Regions from separate parts of the Homo sapiens genome. Here regions 1, 2 and 4 are each linked to region 3. The links are contacts of gene promoters, found by promoter capture Hi-C in blood cells and fetal thymus (Javierre and others, 2016). All regions are on one chromosome and are shown on one strand. Each heading gives the region's core, a stretch centred on a gene start or on the middle of the fragment in contact. The rest is flanking DNA. Distances are from core to core; before and after follow the strand shown.

Region 1 (5,846 bases), core at 371-2,870, 310 kb after region 3:
AGTCTTTTGTGGGCCCCGTGTCCAATCCTGAAGAAGATATGGGAAGTCCCACAGCCACCAGGCCTCCCTAAAAATCTCCTTCAAGGCTGTGTGCCTAGGAGCATGAGCCCTTGATCTCCATATCCCCCAGCATGCCTGGTGGCTTAGGGTCTTGCCCAATACAGGCTCTCAGTAAACACTGACAATTTTCTTGAGAGAAATCATTTCAAAGGAAGCCTCTGGACCTTAGTCATTTGGTCAAATGAGGAGGGGCGTGGAGCTGATGATTTGCAAGTGATTCCTAGCTATTAAATTATGTGACTCCATGAACTCCCAAGTAACAGAGATGATATTAATAATAATAATGATTCTCTAGATCATACAGTATTGATACTTTTTACAAAGGTTCTAGGGACCACACGGACACGTGCACAAAACACTGCATTTTTCAAGGATACGCACATGTCTAAATACAGATTATAGAAGACAGATTGGAAGCACATGTATCAAATACCCAAGAGTGGAAGACTGGAAGGGGAAAGGAGAATAAGACTGTGAATGGTAGACAAAAAAAGAAAGTATCAGGTAAAGCAAGAGAGGGATCTTGCACAACCAATCATAATACTGTGTCAGCAATTCAATTGCATTTGAGGCCAAAAAGAACTCCAGAAAGTTCTAAAGTCCTTCTGTATCCAAGAGGAGAAGGTACAGCAGCATTTGATAAGAACCAAACAAGTGTAATTATCCCCATTCTTGCTAAGCAGATGAAGAGTGGCTTGTAGTTACTTATCTAATGTCCCAAAGATGGTCCAAACCTGGAACAAAACGCTTATTTCCCAAAAGAGATTATGCCAAGAAACTGTTCTAACTATACCAGCCCCTATTCCCAGTATAAGGCAGCTGGTGCTTAGTGCCAAATATTAAGTCAGGGGAGAGGGAGATTTCTGAAGGCTTAGCCAGAAGAAGTTCTCAGAATGACAATGAGGAGACAGTGGTTGGTGCAGGTGCATTAATACATTTGCTCAACAAATATTAACTTAGCATCTACTACACGTGTTAAGCACTAATAACAGCTGTGAATAACACAGACAAAATCCCTACTCTCAAGAAGCTTATATTCAAATACTGTAAACATAAATAAATAAACAACAAAAACAATGATCCGAGAGTGGTAAGTGCTATGAAGAGAATAGAGGGTATGACAGAGTGATTAGATTGAAGAGTCTGAGAAGGTGACTCTATGGACTTTCTCTAATATTAAAGAATTACTATTATAATTCAGACCTTTAAGCTGAGATCTAAATGACAAAAAAGTTAATCATTCAGAGACCACAGGAATAGCATTCCACCTAAGCAAAGACCCCCTGACACAGGTATGCACAGTTGAGAAGCAAAAAGAAGGTTGATATATGATAATGATTTGTGATCTTAACATTTTAAAATAGAGTCATTTAGGCTGGGTGTGGTGGCTCATGCTTCTAATCCCAGTACTTTAGGAGGCTGAAGCAGGAGGATTGCTTCAGACCAGGAGTTGGAGACCAGCCTGAGCAACATAGTGAGACCCGGCCACTACAAAAAAAATGTAAAAACTTAGCTGGGCATGGTGGTGCGTGCCTGTAGTACTACCTACTTAGGAGGCTGAGGAGGGAGGATCAATTGAGCCCAGGACCTGCAGGCTTCAATGAACTATGATCGTGCCACTGCACTCCAGCTGAAGTGACAGAGTGAGACCCTGACTCAAAAAAAAAGTTAGTTTTATTCTAAGTGAGATGGGATGACACTGGAGGATTTTAAGCAGGAGAGGGACAGGACCTAATTTGCTTTTTTAAATTGCTCTAAGTTGTGTATAGATTGCAGTGTTGGGGGCAAGGAAGAAAATAGAACAACCAGCTGGGAGACTATCCCTGGCTTAGGTGAGAGGGGACAGTGGCTTGGACTAGGGTGACAGCAGTTGAGACAAAGGCAAGCGTAGAGATTAGGGAGTATGTTTTAGAAACAAAGTTGGCAGGCTCTGTTGATAGGTTAGATGTGGGAAATGTGGGACAGAATAATCAAAGGTAACTCCTAGATTTGGGACTTGAGTAACTGGGTGGACGCCATTCATTAAGAAGGGGAAACTAGGGGAAGGCAGGTTGTTTAGAGACATCTACCTCCTTCTGCTCAAAGCTTGAGGGGGATAACAGTCCACTTTTTTTTTTTTTTCCTAAGACAGGGTTTTATTCCTGTCACCCAGGCTGGAGTGCAGTGGTCCATCTCAACTCACTGCAACCTCTGCCTCCCAGGCTCAAGTGATCCTCCAGCCTCAGCCTCCCAAGTAGCTGGGACTACAGGCGCGCACCACCACAGCCGACTAGTTTTTGTATTTTTTGTAGAGACGGGGGTTCGCCATGTTACCCAGGCTGGTCTTGAACTCCTGGTCTCAAGCAATCCATCCGCCTTGGCCTCCCAAAATGCTGGGATTACAGATGTGAGCCACCCTACCCAGCCTAACAGTCCACTTTTAATCAAAAGTTTCATTCTGCAAGTGGCCTACCTGCCCTGACCCACTATCTTTTCATTTATCACCTCTTGCTTGATAAATAATTAAGCCTAATGCTGTACTATTAAGGACATAATTACCAGAAATTATTAACTGCATTAGATGAGTCATAAGTTCAAAAAGTCCTCTCCAATATCTCTCCCAAACAGGGACATTGTCCTTTAAGCAATGTCAGGCTGTCCTGAAGTCCCCACTCACTATCTGAGAAGAGAGTGGAATGAGGCCAGGAGAGTTCGGGTATCAGAATGTCCTGAGCCCAGGTTCTATTCATTTCTATTAGGGGAACAACCTTCCTCATTCTGGACTCCCTCTCTTTACCCCATGACCTACACTTAATCATTTACCAAAACTCTGACTCTGCCTTCACAATATTATGGCCACCTAGCTCTTTCTAGATAGCCCTTGTGCTGCCTGTCACTATCTCTCAACAGGACCAAGTAGCGGGCTGCTAGAGGATCTCTATTCTCTCCTTTCCATCAGTCACCTCCCCACCCACCCACATGGCCAAGCAACCTCCCTAAAGCACAACTCTGATCATAACACTGACCTATTCAGAGACTTTCCTGGACACCCAAAAGGGCCTGTCAGGTGGTCTTCCTGACAGCTACAGGCCTAAAAACTGTCTTAGGAATATAGCAAGGTTTCAAGGTAAAGTTCCCTCAAGTGCAGAGACAGCATGAGCTTTACAACTCAAGTTTGAATGTTTTCTTGACCTCTTACTCTCTGGGTGATTAGAACATCTGCAAGCCTCCGTCTTCTCTCATGGCAGGGTTGGTGCAGGAGTCAAATGAAATAATGAACCAGTTGTGACTGACACAGCTGATTCTCAATCAGTGTCCCTTCCCTCCTTTCTCCTCCCAAGAGGATAATTACTTCACCCTCAAAGACACTTAGCAAAAGCTACAATGGATACTGTTATAGACAGAATTGTGTCCTCTCTGCAAAATTCCTATGTTAAAGCCCCAACCCCCAAGGTGATGGTATTTGGAGATAGGGCTTTTAGGGAGATAATAAGGTTAAATGAGCTCATAAGGGTGGGGCCCCAATCTGATAGGATTGGTGTCCTTATAAGAAGAGACACCAGAAATCTCTTTCTCTCTCTCCCCATATACATGCACAGTAAAGAGGCCATATATGAGGACACAGCAAAAAGGCAGCCGTCTACAAGCCAGGAAGAGAGGCCTCCCCGGAAGCCAACCCTGAAGGCACCTCAATTTTTGACTTCTAGAACTATGAGAAAATTAATTTCTGTTGTTTAAGCCACCTAGTCTGTGGTATTTTGTTGTGGCAGCCTGAGCCAACTAAGACAGACACCATTGTTTTATGACCTGTACTCCCCTGCCAGGTTTTTACACTGCCACTCCTGTTGCTGGAACTCACCAACAATGCGTTCATCATGCCAATTTCCCAAACATTTTCTCTGTCCACTCCTCATCCATGCTCATGCCCATTTGAGAATGGGCACCACTCCCATGCAGGGAGTGACCCAGTGCCGTCAATCATCACGTCCTTCTCTAGAATTTCTCCCCCATGTTCCTGTGAATTCAGGATTTCAGACTTTATCTAAAATTTCCCCAACTTGATCTCACCTCTCACTTACTACTTTACCAACCCTCCTCACCCTCCAATGGGACTCAAAAGGCCATTACAAGTATGTGGATACTTTTGCTGCTTGTTGTGCAAGATGAACTGAGTCTGACCAAACCCAACAGGTCTGAGAGCATGAGAATTGGGAAAATAACATAATGTCACATCACAAAATGCAGAAAGGCTATTTATTCTTTTGATTTTAGGGAATTAATCACATTTTACCACGTAGATGTCCTATCCTGGAAGGTTGGTGGGAGGGGAGATGTACGGAAAAATTAACCAATCATTGAATCTTTCAGAGTGGAATGGGTCTGTGGATGCCACAGCTTAAGTCCCCTTTGCAACACCTCCCAAGTGATGGTCAGTTCTTAATGCATACCTCTAGTGACAGAGAACTCGCTACCTTACAATGCAGCTGAATCTGTGGTAGAACAACTCTACTTGTTAAAAAGTCATTCTTTATTTGAGCTGAAGTCTACCCATCAGTCCTGCTTCCACCCTTTATAGTGCAACAGAACAAGTAAAATCTCTCTTCCACAAGTTAGCCCTTCCAATATCTGAGGACAGGGATGGTTTCCCTGCTTCAGTTTTCCCCAGACTTCTCATGTGTCTGTTCCTCTTCTCATGTGTCTGTTCCTCATCGACAATGGACTTGATTCTCATCACCATTGTTGTTCTCTGCTGCCCTGAGCCCCATCTCTGTCCCCAAAGTGGACCTCAGACCTGAATAGACTATTCCAAACATGAGCCATCCAAAATGAAGCAAGCTGCCCCTCTTGACTTCCTGTAAGATTTTAACATCATCCACCTTCAAATCCTCTTTGAAACCTGTCACTCAGCCATGAGTTCTTGGCAGTACGGAGGACCTAGGCCAGTCCCTCTAATTGCCATCACTATTAAAGAATCTGCCTCTCTGTTATTTGGAACATTCAGCAAGAACAGATTTCCTCCCATTGCAATTTAGATTCCTGAAAAGACCAATTTGGTTTGCCTTAACAAGACACAATGGCTCTATCACTTAAATTCTTTTTACTTTAGTCCCTCCAGGGTTTGGCACAAATTTAATGTTTCCCCCTTGTGCCTCCTCTAAAGGGAAAACTACCTAAACCAAAAACATCAGGCAAAATCATTTCTCCCTACTGACTTTTTTTTTTTTTAAGACAGAGTCTCGCTCTGTCACCCAGGCTAGAGTGCAGTGACATGATCTCAGCTCACTGCAACCTCCCCGTCCCAGGCTGAAGTGATTCTCCTGACTCAGTCTCCCAAGTAGCTGGGACTACAGCTGCATGCCAGCATGCCCAGCTAATTTTAGTAGAGACAGGGTTTGACCATATTGGCTAGGCTGGTCTTGAACTCCTGACCTCAGGTGATCTGCCCGCCTCAGCCTCCCAAAGTCCTGGGATTACAGGCATGAGCCACCGCAGCCAGCCGCTACTGACAATTAATGTTAGAAGTCAGAAGCTGGCAGGAATTGCATCTGTCTCTCGAACCAAAGACAGGTGTTACTCTATTTAATGACCCACCCAGACCTATTGAAATCAGAGTAATAAGCTCTTCGGGTGATTCTTATGCCCAACAAAGTTTGAGAAGCCTGCCCTAGAGTGTATTGAAAGCCACTGTTTCCTCCTTAAATTTGTTTTCATCACTCTTTGGAAGCAGGGATGCAGTCTGTAACTACACAATTAGAATGCTAAAATCTGGCCTGGTGGTGTGGTGTCTCAGGCCTGCAATACCAATA
Region 2 (5,636 bases), core at 2,781-5,280, 280 kb after region 3:
CCACTCAAAAACTCATACATTAATGTTTGTAATATTATTACTTGTAATACCCAAAAAGGAGGAGCAATACAAATGTCCACCAAATGATAAGTGGATAAACAAAATGCATAAGCAATTGACAAATGGGTAAACATGTGATGGAATATTATTCATCAATAAAAAGGAATGACATACAAATACATGCTAGGACACATATGAACCTTGCAAACATTATGTTAAGTAAAAGAAGCAAGTCACAAAAAAACACGTATTATATGATTCTATTTATATGAAATATCCAGAATAGGCAAATCTAGGAATACAGAAAGTATGTTAGTGGTTGCCAGGGACTGGGAGGTTGGGGTGAAATAGGGAGAGACTGCTCATTTCATTAGCAGGTATAGGATTTCTTTATGGCATGACACAAATTTTCTAAAATTTATTTCAGTGATGCTTGCACAACTCTGTGAATATACTTAAAAAACCACTGAATTGTACATTTTAAATGAGGGAATTGTAGGATAGGTGAATTTAAGCTCAATTAAGTTTTTTTGTTTTTTTTTTTTTTTTTGAAAGACAAGGCTGTATTTCTAACTCTGATCCTAAGCAAGTTACGTCAAGCTCTAGGCCTCATTTCTTGATGTGTTAAACAGGGATACCTTCCCAAATCAGTATACGGAATACTACACCTTCCCAAATAGGAATACGGAACTCTTGTTATTAAAGTTTTCTCAATTATGGCAAGCCTGGTTGGCTATAATCTCTATTATTCTTCCCATACCAAGGAGTGTACAGGGGGACACCTGCTGAGGCTAGAAGGCCAGGCCAAGCTGAGGACCCACTAACAAGAGTTTTACAGTTTCAGGAGTAAAAGTAACCTTAGGATCACCTAGACCTATCATCCATCTGATACATGAATCCCTTCCACAACATTCCTCTGCCCATCTCTATAGCAACAGGAAATCTCCTACCCTACAGGGAACCTGCCCTCAGACAGTTCTGAGTAGGCTGAAATCTACCTCTCTATAGCATCAAATGTAGTCCTCATGGTACCCAACAGAACAGGTCTTACTCCTTATCCATTTTGCCATCTTTCATATATTCAAAGATAACTCATGTTCCCTTGAACTCTCTCTTCTCTATATTCCTATCTAACTGCATTTAGGAGACCCAAATGTTTAGAACTTTACTTATACCTCTATTAAACTTCAGCTGGTTAGATCTGAGTCAGCATTCATGCCTCTTGAGATCTTTTTGGAACACAATTCTGTCTTTCCTCTAGGTTTTATATCTTTAAATAATTTATGGTCTCACCTACAGCCTTGCAAGATGAATTCTAAAGGCTGCCTATTCTAATTATTTTGTCATTTGTTGCGAGGTTTTTTTAATGGCTCTTTCTGAGTTTGTGTGGTATAGATCACAAACTATCAGAGATATAGAAGTTATAAAGATCATCAAGTCCAATTATCTCATTTTTCAGTTGATAAAGGTCCATTTCAAGGAGTTAGTAGGAAGGGCTTTCAGCCCTAGCTCTGCCATTCGTTCAGGATTACTTTGCCTTGAAATTGGTAAGCTGGGATAGAACTTTCCCCACTGTATGACACTCTTATCAGACCCCATTCATTTAATTACTCAACAAATATTTGCTGAACACAATTTTACAGTGCATAATTTTACAGTGGTCTAGGCAAAAAATAATGGTCTATCAGACTAGGGTAACAAAAGTAAAAATAGAGAGACATACATTAGGAGACAAAATAGACACAAGTTGGTGTGGATTGGTGGGAGGATCACCTACTTGCTGAGTGGAGGAGGCTGAATCTGCAAATGGAATGAAAAGGAGCAGCCAGAGAGGATGGGGAAAATTTAAAAAGACAAACAGGAGAATACAGTATGATGGAATCCAAGAGAAGAGAACAACTCAAGAAGGATGAGTGATCGATAATGCTGAATGCCACTGAGGGATCCAGTAAGGTGAGGAATGGAAAATATCTATTTAGTCTAGCACAGGGAGGTCATTAAGGAATACAGTAGGCTGGGCATGGTGACTCACACCTGTAATCCCAGCACTTTGGGAGGCTGAGGCGAGTGGATCACCTGAGGTCAGGAGTTTGAGACCAGCGTGGCCAATGTGGTGAAACCCCGTCTGTACTAAAAATACAAAAAAATTAGCTGGGCGTGGTGGCAGGTGCCTGTAATCCCAGCTACTACAGAGGCTAAGGCAGGAGAATTGCTTGAACTGGGGAGGTGGAGGTTGCAGTGAGCTGAGATCACGCCATTGCACTCCAGCATGGGTGATAAGAGCAAGACTCCATCTCAAAAAAAAAAAAAAAAAGGAATGCAGTATTTACTGAAGCCAGATTACAGCCAAGAGGAGGGACTAGCAATGGCACAGGGAAGCACGGCATTTTATTCTGCATGCCACACATCTTTCTGTTGTGCACAGTCCACTCCCGCATAATGTTTAGTCCTCACTAGGAGGGTCTGCCCACCTAAAGGAATAACATAAACACTCCACAGAGGCCAATGCAATCCATGCCAGAACTTTTCTAGAAGAGTCACTGTGACTCCTGCTAATTGTAACCTTATGAATAAGCAGCCCAGCTCAGTAGGCTAGTTAAGTATTATTCCCATTTTTATATAATTTGAATGCAAATGGTTTGCCCAAAGTCATGCATGAAGTTTGTAGTTTTTTAATTTTTTAAAAGACTCTCCCGAATTCCTCAATTCCAGCCTTGAGCAGCGTTAAGCATGCCAAATGCCAGACACCACGTTCCTGCCTGGCCCTGGAAAACTCACCTCCCCTCTATTGGCTTCCGTTTCCCCAACTGTAAAATGAAAGAATTTGACTAGTCTCTAAGTTTCTTTTCAGTAATACAATTTTATAGGTTTATTCTAAATTTTTCTAGGTAATAACTTTGAAGTTTTGTTCTCCTGAAACCCCCTAACCTAACCCCCTAGCCAGATTTGTATCCCTTGAGCCAGAATTAGGAGATTTTTCTGAAACATGACTGTAATCCCACAGGTCAACTACAAAACTCTAGCTATTCAGGAGTCACAGCTAAGTACTCAGTCTCCTAGGAAAACAGATTCTTTATGGTGACAAGCCGCCTTGAATGCCATCCATCTCCTGCCTCAGACTTTCTCATTCTAGAGCTGAAATCTTGCCTCTTTCCCCATGTGTTTCCTTGGAAGAGCATAAAAGTCAATTCATTCTCCAGGTAAAACCCCTTGGACCTAGTTCAAGCCTTCATTTTAACATCTGTTGGAGAGCTTTTTAAAAATATTTTTTAATTGGCAAGTAAAAGTTATGTATATTGAGGGTATATAATATGATGTCTTGAAATATCTATACATTAGCTCAATTGAGCTAATTAGCAAATATATGCATTACCTTAAATACTTAACATTTTTTGTGGTGAGAACAGTTAAAATCTACTCTTGGCAATTTTCAAGTATACAATACGTTGCTATTAACTATAGTCACTATGTTGTACAATAGATCTCTTGAACTTATTCCTCTTAACTGAAATTTTGTATCCATTGACCAACATCTTCCCAGATCCCCACCCCAACCCCTAGTAACCACCATTCTACTCTCTGCTTCTACAAATTTGACTTTTTAAGGCTCTACATGTAAGTGACAATATGTGGTATTTGTTTGAGTCTAAAGTATTTCACTAAACATAATGTTCTCCAGGTTCATTTATGTTGTCATAAATGACATAATTTCCTTCTTTTTGAGGGTGAATAGTATCCCATTGTGTATATACTGTATATTACATTTTCTTTATCCATTCATCCATTCATTCATTGATAGGCATTTATATTGATTCCACATCTTGACTACTGTGAACAATGCTACAGTGAACATGGGAGAGCAGATATCTCTTCAAAACACTGATTTCATTTCCTTTGGCTATATGCCCAGTCATGGGATTACTAGATCATATGGTAGTTCTATTTTTAATTTTTTGAGGGACCACCATCCAGTTTTCCATAATGGGTGTGCTAATTTACATCCACTGTTGGAGAGCTTTGAAAGACCTTCTGTATGAGTATGGAAAGTCATGTTTTTCTCTAACAAGTTTTCAGATCATCTCCTTTCCAAGCCTGACTGATGGGCAAGTCCCAGAACTCATAGAACCCAACCAAGTCATATGTCTCCTTCCCACTGAGAGAGGACATGTCCAAAAACTGAGGACACCCACAATGATGCTTTCCCTTCTAACCCCCCGGCTAAGAAATGTCTTTGCCCAGAAGGTTCACAGGAATGTAGGTGGTGCCTAAACCCAATCAGCCTCCCAAGAAAGACTCTACCAACCTCCCAAGAAAGAATCTCACCATTGGGCATGAGCTCCACCACTAAGGTTGGATAGGCGATGTTGGTACAGCCAACCTTGGTACCGCAATATTTCTCACATTCTGAAGGGACGACACAGGCAATTTTTTCTGGGAAGAGATGGAGAGCCACGTCAGCAAGCAGACATTGGGGAAATATTTCCAAAATTCACCTTCTTTTTTTTTTTTTGAGACGGAGTCTCACTCTGTAGCCCAGGCTGGAGTGCAGTGGCACGATCTCGGCTCACTGCAAGCTCTGCCTCCCGGGTTCACGCCATTCTCCTGCCTCAGCCTCCCAAGTAGCTGGGACTACAGGCGCCCACCACCATGCCTGGCTAATTTTTTGTATTTTTAGTAGAGATAGGGTTTCACTGTGTTAGCCAGGATGGTCTCGATCTCCTGACCTCGTGATCCACCCGCCTCAGCCTCCCAAAGTGCTGGGATTACAGGCGTGAGCCACCGTGCCCGGCCAAAATTCACCTTCTTAAAACAAGGTTTCAAACAGGATATTCCTTTCCAAGGCTCTGAAATGGTTCCTCAGGAGTGCAGCTCTCCACAGAACCCTTTGGTGCCTGCCCCGCCCTGCTGGCCCTGACACACTGATGAGCTCTGACTAAGGAAGAAAGACAATTTCTAGGCAACGGAGGAAAGAAATCAAAGAAACATTCAGGGTGGAAGGATGACAGCAAGAGATTAAGCAACAATTGAGCAAATATTATTAGGGAGAAGTGACCTGGAGGCATGTCATAACTTTAGAAGATTTGAAAAAAAAAAAAAAAAAAAAGGAGGAAACAATTGTCGACATAAGAAACCAGGGAAGACAACTCCAAAAGTTCCCTCAAGTTGCTCACTGTCTAGCACAGGAGCAATAATGCTTGGATATGACCATAACAAATAAAGAAGAGGGCCAGGCGTGGTGGCTTATGCCTATAATCCCAGCACTTTGGAAGGCCAAGGCAGGAGGATCACTTGAGGCCAGGAGTTCAAGACCAGCCTGAGCAACATAGCAAAATCCCATCGCTACAAAAAAAAAAATTAAAAATTAGGCAGGCATGGTGGTACATACCTGTAGTCCCAGCTGCTCAGGAGGCTGAAGCAGGAAGGTCACTAGGGCCCAGGAGTTAGAGTTGGAGACTGCAGTGAGCAATGATCACACCACTGCACTCCAGCCTGGGTGACAGAGTGAGACCTGGTCTCAAAAAAAAAGAGGAGGAAGCGGGAAGCTATAGAGCTTTAGAAGTGACTTGGAGACAGAAAAAGGGAGAGTGGTTTGTGGGTCCAGCAGAAGTTATTACCTGTGTACAGAATGCGGCTGA
Region 3 (5,487 bases), core at 2,374-4,873:
ATTTATTTTTTTATTATACTTTAAGTTCTGGGATACATGTGCAGAACGTGCAGGTTTGTTACATAGGTATACACGTGCCATGGTGGTTTGCTGCACCCATCAACCCATCATCTACATTAGGTATTTCTCTTAATGTTATCCCTCCCCTAGCCCCCAACCCCCGTCAGGCCCCAGTGTGTGATGTTCCCCTCCCTGTGTCCATGTGTTCTCATTGTTCAACTCCCACTTATGAGTGAGAACATGTGGTGTTTGGTTTTCTGTTTCTGTGTTAGTTTTCTAAGAATGATGGTTTCCAGCTTCATCCATGTCCCTGCAAAGGACATGAACTCAATACCATTCAGGACGTAGGCATGGCCAAAGACTTCATGAGTAAAACACCAAAAGCAATGGCAACAAAAGCCAAAATTGACAAATGGGATCTAATTAAACTAAAGAGCTTCTGCACAGCAAAGGAAACGATAATCAGAGTGAACAGGCAACCTACAGAATGGGAGAAAATTTTTGCAAAAGATGGCTTTTAAGTAATTTACACAGCAGGTTGTCTATTAATATGTAACATGCTAACAGATCTATTTGAGCGATCCTATTTCCTTGAGATTAAAGGTAGATTTGGCATTTTCTTCAAAAAGATATTTTTACTCTGTTTCTATAGTGTGAAATTGTACTTCATTACGAAGTGATCTCTTATGTCTGTCGTTAAAATAAATCAAACCAGAAACTAAATCCAGCTCTAGGAAGACTACACTTTATTTTATTTATCTCTGATGCATCTTATAATTTTTTTTGCTATGAGTGTCTGTGTGGATACTCTTCATTAAGAAAAACAGATTCTTTTGGAATATATTACCTTTCTACACTAACATTTCTTCCTGGCTAACACGGTGAAAACCCGTCTCTACTAAAAATACAAAAAATTAGCCGGGCGTGGTGGCGGGCGCCTGTAGTCCCAGCTACTCGGGAGGCTGAGGCAGAAGAATGGCGTGAACCCGGGAGGCAGAGGTTGCAGTGAGCTGAGATCGCGTCACTGCGCTCCAGCCTGGGCGACAGAGCAAGACTCCGTTTAAAAAAAAAAAAAAAAAAAGCTAGATGACAACCACAATACTAAGTAATGCAACTCTAATACTAATGCATTTTACATAGTTACTAAATAATCCATTTTCTTGCTTTCAATATTCCTAATGCTAGATGAAAGTACTGTTTAGTTTACCAAACCTTTAATCAAAAATGTCTAATCAGTACATCTTTTTAGCCCTTTAATTCATGTTAGAGAGTTTTAAGATGGAAGAAACAAATTAGACTCAAATTAAAAAAAAGTCTGACCTACAGTAGCTATTAGATAGTTAACATTTGTGACATCATCATGATTTTGTTCTGATACATGTATTTCACTTAGCATTGTTGAAATCAACTGGAATAATAGCCAAATAAAAACATTCTTTTAGTTATAATTTCAAAAACGATTGAAATTTATCAACAGTCATAACAACATCATTGTACTCTTAAATTAGACAATTCTTAGCACATATAAAAACATATTTACCTCTTTCAACTAGGACAATGTTAGAATTTATCAAAATTCACCATCATCAACTTTTTTTTTTTTTTCCAAAATCTTGATTGTTAGGTACTATAAAACTGCACCCTAATCAAATGATGTGTTTTTGATCTGATGATTTTACAAAGTTGGGAGGAAATTCAACGAAAAAAATACTTGTACAATTAAATTTCAAATCCTAAACATTTACTTATTTAAGCCTGCCTCTCTAAACTTAAAATAGATATCAGCTCCTCCAATAGGATGAGTAGATTTTCTCACTATATTTTCCACTTCTTTTTAAATTTTCTCCTCCATTTGAGCATTCAGAAGCATGAATCTGTGGGGATTGTTAAAGTTTTTTTTTAGTTTGCTGCATTTCTGAGTATACAAACACATACACATATAACTATAGTATCGTGTGTGTGTGTGTATAATTTGTGTATATACATATATTTGTTCAATCTGGAAGCCATTGAAATTTTCTGTTTATAACAACACAGAATGACCTATTCTTTCAGCACCTACCCCATTACACCCTCTGTTTTATAATCACTGGACAAAATATAGCATCATCTATATTAATGCAGATTGTATACATCATTTGTGACCTATTTATTTGTTCTAGAAATTTGTACTTAGCAATGATAGACATTTGTACTGTAATATTTATATCATGAAGGGTACCTATTCTCTTTGAAACATAGCAACTCTCTCATCTTAACCCTAAAATTTTCATTTGTTCTATTTATTTTAGGGCAGGTCACTTTCAACAGCTTGTTTTCTTGGGCATATCATAAAAGTATTTGCAATTGGGTGTTATGTATCAGCCAGAATACACACGTAGTTATACATTTTGAAAGTTATCTAAAATTCTGCATTCAGAAACACTTTAATTATATGTATTAGGCTGGGCATGGTGGTTCACGCCTCTAATCCCAATACTTTGGGAGGTCGAGGTGGGTGGATTGCTTGAATCCAAGAGTTGAAGACCAGCCTGGGCACCATGGAAAAACCCCATCTCTACAAAATATTAGCTGAGCATGGCGGCAAGAACCTGTAGTCCCAGCTACATGGGAGGCTGAGTTGGGAGGATCACCTGAGCCTGGGAGGTCAAGGCTGCAGTGAGCCATGATCAAGCCACTGCACTCCAGCCTGAGTGACAGAGTGAGACCCTGTCTCAAATAAAAAATTATATGTATTCACCCAAAGTGTTCACCCCACCGAGAAGATGCACTGGTGAAAATATAGTGATTTTTTTTTCCTTTAAATACTCAGTGAATGGCCAGCCGTTTACATACACAATGGTAGACAAATTCCTCTGTGAATTCACAAAGTTTGGGAGATAAATAAGTGCATAGTAATATATAGAGATAAGTGGAAAAATAAGTTTCATAATTATATTGTGAGAGAAATATGATTTTTATAATATCAAGTAACACTTTTTTCTAATTCTGAACAGTTTATTGCTTCTAGAAACATTAGATCACTCAGGAATGGTAGAAATATGACTTTTTAGGGAAATATGACTTTTAAAATGTGACTTTAAAAAATGTCACTTTTTAAGAAACATGACTTTTATAACAATATCCATTTATGCTGTCTTTAATTCTGAACAGTTTGCTTATTGGTTCTAGAAATATTAGATGACTCAGGAATGGTAGAAATATTTGGCAATGGAATTTCGAATCGAGAATGGAACTTCTGGTTGTTACTAACATATCGGTTTTGCCCCTGCTCAGTTTGAAATTCTTGCCATTGAGTGTATTTTGGGGTACACAATTTCTCCTCCTAAAACTTATTTTAATAAGCACAGAATAGTAATTAATGAGCTTGGGTTTTGTTGTTTTTTTTTTAAGTAAAACGCCTAATCTTTTATTTTATTTTATTTTATTTTATTTTTTTACGGAGTCTCGCTCTGTCGCCCAGGCTGGAGTGCAGTGGCGCTATGTCGGCTCACTGCAAGCTCCGCCTCCCGGGTTCACGCCATTCTCCTGCGTCAGCCTCCCGAGTAGCTGGGGGCTCCCGCCACCACGCCCGGCTAATTTTTTGTGTTTTTAGTACAGACGGGGTTTCACCATGTTAGCCAGGATGGTCTCTATCTCCTGACCTCGTGATCCACCCACCTCGGCCTCCCAAAGTGCTGGGATTACAGGTGTGAGCCACCACTCCCTGCCGTAAAAGGCCTAATCTTTAATGACCCTCCTGTGCGTGTGAAAGCACTCTTGTTGGTGCAGCAGAAAGCGGACCTCACAATACACATTGTGACTTTACCCTGAGACGTTGATGATGCTCCTATCACCATGGTTATGTGATTGGGTATATCTTGCCCTCGGTCCTAACTGCCACTGTCTGTGCTGAGTTTTTCAAAGTTCATAGCAGGTTGAACATGCTTGCTGTCATTTTCACAGATTCTGGTCTTTCTTATGGGGAACCTGAGTTCCTGCATTAAAGGTATGTTCACATTGGCCTGTTGAATGCTGTCCTCTCAAATGTACTAGTTAATATTTAAAAATATATTTTATTAAAAAATTCTCCTCTGTATTTTTCATATGCAGTTATAAATGTGTTTCCCGGTTATGTTTTATTCCTCAATTTATATATTTGATTCTAGTATCAAGCAGGATGCCTTTGAGCTTTTCCTTTATTTAAAAGACATGTCTTATTTCCTGTTACATCTGGCACCCCTCAAACCACCCAATTAGGTATCCTTCTGGGAAAAATATGGCAAAGTATGTTTTAATGCAGTTTTTACCTAATTAAGAACCTATTAAAATCATTAATTTTAAAAATTAGGAGCAAAGCTAGAATGATGCAGATGTCTTTGAGGCTTTTAACACAACGAAGTGTGTCCATCTTTGTCTTTTGTTGTTGTTTTTTTGTTTGTTTGTTTGTTTTTGAGATGGAGTCTCACTCTGTCGCCCAGGCTGGAGTGCAACGGTGCGATCTCGGCTCACTACAACCTCCGCCTCCCGGGTTCAAATGATTCTCTCGCCTCAGCCTCCCGAATAGCTGGGATTTCAGGCACCCACCATCATGCCCGGCTAATTTTTGTATTTTTGTAGAGACAAGGTTTTACCATGTTGGCCAGGCTGGTCTTGAACTCCTGACCTCAGGTGATCCACCTGCCTCGGCCTCCCAAAGTGGTGGTGTTACAGGCGTGAGCCACCACACCAGGCCCTGGCCTGTTTTTAGTATGTCTTTCCTCTCTCCTTTTTCATGAAATGTGTATTCAGTTTAGTAAATTTGGAATATGTCATTTATATTCACATATTAACTTTTTGAAAAGAAGTAAGAATGTGTATTGTCTATGTGTCAGTGTGTGAAACAAAACACACTTATTTTTATGATTGGGGTTTATCCAAAATGATAGAGATAACAATTATAGTCAATCACCCAAACCACTTACCTTTCCAAAGGTAAATATAATCAAGTGTAATCATTTTTTCTCATCCAGAGAGTAGTTCATATTTCAACATACAAAGATAGAGAAGTGAAATGAATCGGTAAACACTATTAACCAAGAACATACAGATTTACTCACACCAGGAAACACGTAGGTCACATACATATATGTAAAGATACATTTAAAAATAATAAGATGATAATTGTACAAGTTTGCATATAAAGTGTAACTTTGAAAAACTGTTAATACTGTTTCTGATGGATTGTGTGACTTAGTTCTCCTGACCTATCCTTCAGAGTTCTTTCTAAGGAGGTTGTTCGTTCCATGACTTGGAAACAATCGAAAGTTAGAGGCACTTACATGTGTTAAGAATAAATAAGGCAGCTGGGCGCGGTGGCTCATGCCTGTAATCCCAGCACTTTGGGAGGCCGAGGCAGGCAGATCACCTGAGGTCAGGAGTTCAAGACCAGCCTGACCAACATGGAGAAACCCCATCTCTACTAAAAATGCAAAATTAGCTGGGCGTGGTGGTGCACACCTGTAATTC
Region 4 (6,062 bases), core at 3,159-5,658, 410 kb after region 3:
GGGACGGAGTTTTTGCTCTTGTTGCCCAGGTTGGAGTGCAATAGCGCGATCTCGGCTCACCGCAACCTCTGCCTCGCAGGTTCAAGCGATTCTCCTGCCTCAGCCTGCTGAGTAGCTGGAATTACAGGCATGCGCCTCCATGCCCGGCTAATTTTGCATTTTTACTAGAGATGGGGTTTCTCCATGTTGGTCAGGCTGGTCTCGAACTCCTGACCTCAGGTGATCCGCCCACCTCGGCCTCCCAAACTGCTAGGATTACAGGCGTGAGCCACCGCGCCCAGCCAACATCAATAAATTTAAACATCCCTTTTCAAGTATAATTTCTTCCATTCTAAGTGAAAACATTAAAAACACTGAAAGTCTCCTAAGGGTGAAATGTGTTGTATCCATTTTCTTTCTAGTCTCAACCCAAAGAGCATGGCAGTTAAGAGAACCAGGGACAAGGATTCGGGATCTGAATGCTACTCCAGATGCACCAATTTTGCCATGACCTAGAAAGCTATTTCATTTCTCTGGACTTTAATTTCTCATGCTGTAACATTGAGATGACCCCTTCTTAACGATTTGAGAAAGTTATCTTGACAAGTTTTAAAACGTTTTAAGTAGAATTGGGGAAAAAATATGCAGCAGTGAAGACTTCCAGGCTTACATCACATGTAATTTACAGCACCCTCTTAGGTCCTTTCAAAGAGCCTCATCTATTATTTATGTGGCTAACCTCCTTTTCTTTCTTTTTTTTGAAACCGAGTCTCACTCTGTTGCCCAGGCTGGAGTGCAGTGGGACAATCTCGGCTCCCTGCAACCTCCGCCTCCTGGGTTCAAGTGATTCTCCTGCCTCAGCCTCCATCGTAGCTGGGATTACAGGCACCAGCCACCACACCCAGCTAATTTTTGTATTTTTAGTAGAGGCGGGGTTTCACCATATTGGTCAGACTGGTCTCGAACTCCTAACCTCAAGTGATCCACCCACCTCAGCCTCCCAAAGTACTGGGATTACAGGCATGAGCCACTGCACGCGACCTATGTGGCTAACATTAATCACGTATGTCCATACTTCCCCATACCTCATTCCCAAAGAAGGTGCCTTACACACCATGAACTTAGATTAAAACATAACCCAAATCCTACACTTAAAAAATGAGGGACCTGAACCTCAAAGGTGGCATGGCTTGCCAAGGTTCCCCAGGCCCCCCAGAGGGCCGTTAAAATTCTGAATAAATCTTGGGTGGAAGCTGTCCTCTAGCTTACCAGCTGTATAAATTCCAGAGATCCACAACCTTTGCACTTTAGCTTCCTCATCTGTAAAGTGGGACAAAACCTTTCAGAAGACAGCTGTAAAACGTAAATGTGAATGCTTTAGCAACTGCAAAGGACATTTCAAATGTAAAAGCGACCGGGCACAGTGGCTCATGCCTGTAATCCCAGCACTTTGAGAGGCTGAGGTGGGAGGATCACTTGAGGTCAGGAGTTCAAGACCAGCCTGGCCAACATGGTGAAACCCCATCTCCACAAAAATACCAAAATTAGCCGGGCACGACAGTGGGTGCCTGTAATCCCAGCTACTCAGGAGGCTGAGGCAGGAGAATCACTTGAACCTGGGAGGCAAAGGTTGCAGTGAGCTGAGATCGTGCCATTGCACTCCAGCCTGGGTGACAAGAGTGAGACTCCCATCTCAAACAAAAAAAGAAAATGTAAGAGCCCTTTGTGTGTGTGTGTGAGAGAGAGAGAGACAGAGAGAGAAAAGAGAGAGAGAGAGAGGTCTTGCTATCAGAGACAGAGAGAGAGAGAAAAAAAGGTCTTCCTATCTCCCAGGCTGGGGTACAGTGGAGCAATCACGGCTCACCGCAGCCTCGACCTCCCGGGCTCCATCCTCCCAAGCAGCTGGGACTACAGGCGCACGCCACCATGGCCCAGCAACATTTTGTCTACGTGCTTATCAAAAGCAAGTATTAGCCATATAAAGCTTGTTGACTTTCAAATACCTGACCTACTAACTGAAGTGAAACTCAATAACCACTTTATCTTAAAATTAGGTCAACTTGAAACAGGCTTCCTGAGCCGTATTCATCGGCCCCGGCATGGGGGGCGGGGCTCATACTCTACTTCAGAATAAGAAACAGGTTAAACTTACATGCTTACAAGTTATGTGCTCCACAATATAAATTCAAGGACAGAGATTGTGTCATGGCCATTTCCATCAGTCTAATGCCAAACTTTAGTCAAGAAGGTGTTTAAGGCTGGGCACGGTGGCTCACGCTTGTAATCCCAGCTCTTTGGGAGGCCAAGGTGGGTGGATCACATGAAGTCAGGAGTTTGAGAGCAGCCTGGCCAACACTCAAAACCTCATCTCTACTAAAAATACAAAAATTAGCCTGGTGTGGTGGTGGCGTCTGTAATCCCACCTACTCAGGAGGCTGAGGCATGAGAATGGCTGGAACCTGGGAGGTGGAAGCTGCAGTGAGCCGAGATCATGCCACTGCACTCCAGCCTGGATGACACAGCGAGACTCCATCTCAAAAAAACAAACAAATAGAAAAAGGCGTTTAAGGGTTCTGTGTAACTGAACCAACTCACCTAACAAACGTTCATTCCTAGGTGCCACTCTGGAGGTGATAAAAATCGTGAGGAGCTGGAAACCACCTCACTCAAGAACAGTCAGCCAGTGATGCTGAGGCTCGAGAGACACATTGGGGTTAAGCAAGTGTTTAAGGGGTAGGTTAGGCTTTTTAACTCAATGAGGTTTGCTTTTCTATTTTAAAGAATACTAAATGCTTAACAATAATCACTAAAGATTTCAGGGGTGCAAGTTGTGCCCCTAGTATCTTATTACATTAAGAAAACTTGAGGACGTGTATAAGCTCCGTATTTACCTTCAGTGTTAAATACACTCTCAAGTTCAACAGAGCCCACAATGTTTCAGAGGTGCTATACTGTGGAAGACTGCATTTTGTTCTGCGAGGCTCATTAAAAAGCACCAGTTATCAGGAAAATTGATCAGAGAGGCTATGTTAGCTGGGTTCACAGAAAACTATTTAAAATCTATGAATCCTATGTGTGTGCTGCAAAATATGTAATGTAATGAGAGGGGAGGAAAACTTGGATAATGTACTACAAATGCTTCCATGTTTGAGAGATTCAAACCACAATTTGTGACTGGTTAAACAGTTCCTCGAGGGGGGAAAAATCAAGACCAAACAGAGATAATATCCCCAAAGCAGCATTTATTTACCCATTGAATTCCAAAACATTTATTTTAGAAGTCTGGCATTTCATAATCACCCATCTTGATTGACATGGGCTGACACACATGGCGCTGTCAGGATACACAAGGACAATAGCCAAAGAGTTACAAAAAATAAATCCATGATTCTTAAACAATTGCAACCAAAAAAAAAAAAAAGTTACAAGTATCAAAACTTTCAGATGCATTGCATTGAAAAGAAGGTTTGTGCACGTCATAATTTAAAGAGGCAAAACCAAGGAGCTACTGAAACCTCACGTTAAACAGTTTATTATAAAGCTGATGGAAAGGAGCAAGTTGTCTCTCTGTATCAGCTTCCCTTAACAGTTTTCCATTAATTGAAGAAAGAGGTGGGAGGGGTGAATTCATTTTTGCATGCACAAGATGTACTGCTTAACGAAACACTATCAGCTTGTTTTAAATGGATCTTTTAAATATCAACTGTAGCCTGGTTGGCTAATTCTTTCTAATCTTCCCCATTACTTTCGCCTAGATTTCCCATAGATCAACAGGCATAGTAAAATGCCTCATCAGAACACACTTCTCCACACAATTCAAAAAGGGAGCTCCTGTGGGCTCAAAGCAACCATCAGTCCAGCAATGCCCATGATTTATCTGAAACTGCTTCCCAAGAGACAGGAGTGCAGATCTGAGTAGCTGTGCTGCCAATACAGATAGGTTTAGCACTAGATATTTAGTGATTGTGGCAAGGAAGAATCGGTGATGATGGGGGTGGTGGGTGAAGGAAGGGCCAGGGGACCTGAAGGATCTTCAGTTGCCTTCTCCTGCTTCTTCATCCTGCTGGTCGCTCGTCCAGAGGGTGAGGTTGTCTCGCAGCAACTGCATGATCAGCGTGGAGTCCTTATAGGAATCCTCGTTTAGTGTGTCCAGCTCAGCTATGGCATCATCGAAGGCTTGTTTGGCTAAGAGGCAGGCTTGCTCAGGTGCATTCTGGATCTCATAGTAGAACACGGAGAAGTTGAGGGCCAGGCCCAGCCGGATGGGATGCGTGGGTTGCATCTGCTCTTTGCTGATTTCAAAGGCTTCCTTGTAGGCAGCTTCAGAAGCTTCGACCACACTGTTTTTCTTCTCCCCAGAAGCGACCTCTGCTAAGTAGCGGTAGTAATCACCCTTCATTTTCAGGTAAAACACCTTGCTCTCATACTGGAAATCATTGCAGTTCTTGATCAGGAACTTGTCAAGCAGAGACAGGACATCATTGCAAACTGTCTCCAGCTCCTTCTCAATCTTCTCCCGGTAAGCTTTAACTTTCTCCAATTTCTTTTCGTTTCCATCAGCCATGGTTTTCTGCTCAATGCTGCTAATGACCCTCCAGGAAGATCGCCTGGCACCAACCACATTCTTGTAGGCCACAGAGAGGAGATTTCGATCTTCATTGGAGAGAGGTTCATTCAGCTCTGTCACCTGCAAAACCCCAAAAAGATAAACATTGAAAGCAAAATCTGAAAATCTTGGTAAGAAGCCTTCCCTTCAACATAATCAACAATCCTTCTCAAGAACGGAATTACGAACAGGTCAGTCACTCTGGAGAATAAAAACCACCCATGGATAAAACCAATATAGACATGAACCCTATGTGAAGAAAGACTATAGTCTAACAGAAGAGATAAATACTTGGCACCCAAAACAGAAAATCATAGGGGCTTGAGAAATTCATAATTCGGGTCTGATAAGATGTTGCTTTCACCTTGGTAGAGGAATGGGACTAAGGATAATTATGAAAAGGTTGTACAGCAGCAGTACATAATGGTGAAGAAGAAAACCTCGAGCTTCAGCCATTCTGCAAAAGATACTCTGAACAGGCCGGGCGCGATGGCTTATGCCTGTAATCCCAGCACTTCAGGAGGCCAAGGGCGGGCAGATCATGAGGTCAAGAGATCGAGACCATTCTGGCCAACATGGTGAAACCCCATCTCTACTAAAAATACAAAAATTAGCTGGGCGTGGTGGCACGCGCTTGTAGTCCCAGCTACTTGGGAGGCTGAGGCAAGAGAAACTCTTGAACCCGGAGGTTGCAGTGAGCCCAGATCGTGCCACTGCACTCCAGCCTAGCTAGCGACAGAGCAAGCCTCCGTCTCAAAAGAAAAAAAAAAAAAAAAAAAAGATACTCTGAACAGTAAGATCGTACGGTCCCTTTGTCAAATGTTCAAAGACAACAGACTGGAAGTGTTCCAGACTCTGCTTCCAGCTTTATACTCTGGAAAGAACCAACCACTCCTCAAATACACATTAACAGATGGTGGGGCTTCACAGATCAGATGGAACATCACACAGATCCAGTGGCCAGAGCTTCGCCCTGTGTGGCTACACATGGAACCCTAACTGATACTCCCAGCCCTCTCCCAAACCAAAATGAAGAACAATTCATAAGTGACATGAAAGTACCCCCAGCTCCTAGTGAAAGGAAGCACAGCTACTCAGCAGGAAGTTGTACTCTGACCTACCTCACAGGAAACTCTGGTCATCAAGGATGGAAGCATCAATTATTTTAAGTGGAAGAGTTAAATTTCACAAGCTTTAACTTCCCTTAGTTCTCCATGATGCCAACTACAAGTGAACTAGCTATGCAGTTAGTAGGAAGAGCATTATTAGACTTTGCAGTGGTTGAACTGTATCCCCCGCCAAAAGATACGCTGAAGTTCTGACCCTAGGTTCCTGTGAATGTGAGCTTATTTGGAAATAGGGTCTTTGCAGATGTAATTAGTTAAGATGAAGTCATACTGGACATTAGGGTGTGCCCTAAGTGCAATTACAGGTGTCCTTATAAGGATAGTGAGATTTTGACACACACACAGGAAGA

The links. Contacts are between HindIII fragments. The CHiCAGO score rates a contact against its expected background, and 5 or more counts as called.
Region 1: a contact is called between a fragment that was not itself captured here and the fragment with the promoter of RFPL3S in region 3, in 3 of 17 cell types (M1 macrophages, M2 macrophages and naive CD4 T cells). The highest score is 6.4, in M1 macrophages.
Region 2: a fragment that was not itself captured here is called in contact with the fragment with the promoter of RFPL3S in region 3 in 2 of 17 cell types (M1 macrophages and M0 macrophages); the score reaches 6.6 in M1 macrophages.
Region 4: a contact is called between a fragment that was not itself captured here and the fragment with the promoter of RFPL3S in region 3, in 1 of 17 cell types (M1 macrophages). The highest score is 5.9, in M1 macrophages.

The regions. Positions count from the first base shown.
Region 1 is chr22:32,060,834-32,066,679 of GRCh38, reverse strand. The region is part of intron 2 of SLC5A1 (solute carrier family 5 member 1); the gene reads right to left. Among named protein-coding and RNA genes, the nearest start is that of SLC5A1, 20 kb to the right of the region's middle. The HindIII fragment of the contact is 1,055 bases long and covers 1,093-2,147 here.
Region 2 is chr22:32,085,015-32,090,650 of GRCh38, reverse strand. It overlaps SLC5A1 (solute carrier family 5 member 1), which reads right to left. Exons shown (of 15, transcript NM_000343.4): 9 at 5,616-5,636; 10 at 4,324-4,431. Among named protein-coding and RNA genes, the nearest start is that of SLC5A1, 45 kb to the right of the region's middle. The HindIII fragment of the contact is 9,695 bases long and covers 1-5,636 here.
Region 3 is chr22:32,369,400-32,374,886 of GRCh38, reverse strand. It overlaps RFPL3S (RFPL3 antisense), which reads left to right and starts at 3,623. Exons shown (of 5, transcript NR_104232.1): 1 at 3,623-3,689; 2 at 3,946-3,988. The HindIII fragment of the contact is 20,480 bases long and covers 1-5,487 here.
Region 4 is chr22:31,954,743-31,960,804 of GRCh38, reverse strand. YWHAH (tyrosine 3-monooxygenase/tryptophan 5-monooxygenase activation protein eta) reads right to left here. Exons shown (of 2, transcript NM_003405.4): 2 at 3,202-4,666. The coding sequence ends at 4,013. Among named protein-coding and RNA genes, the nearest start is that of YWHAH-AS1, 12 kb to the right of the region's middle. The HindIII fragment of the contact is 195 bases long and covers 4,311-4,505 here.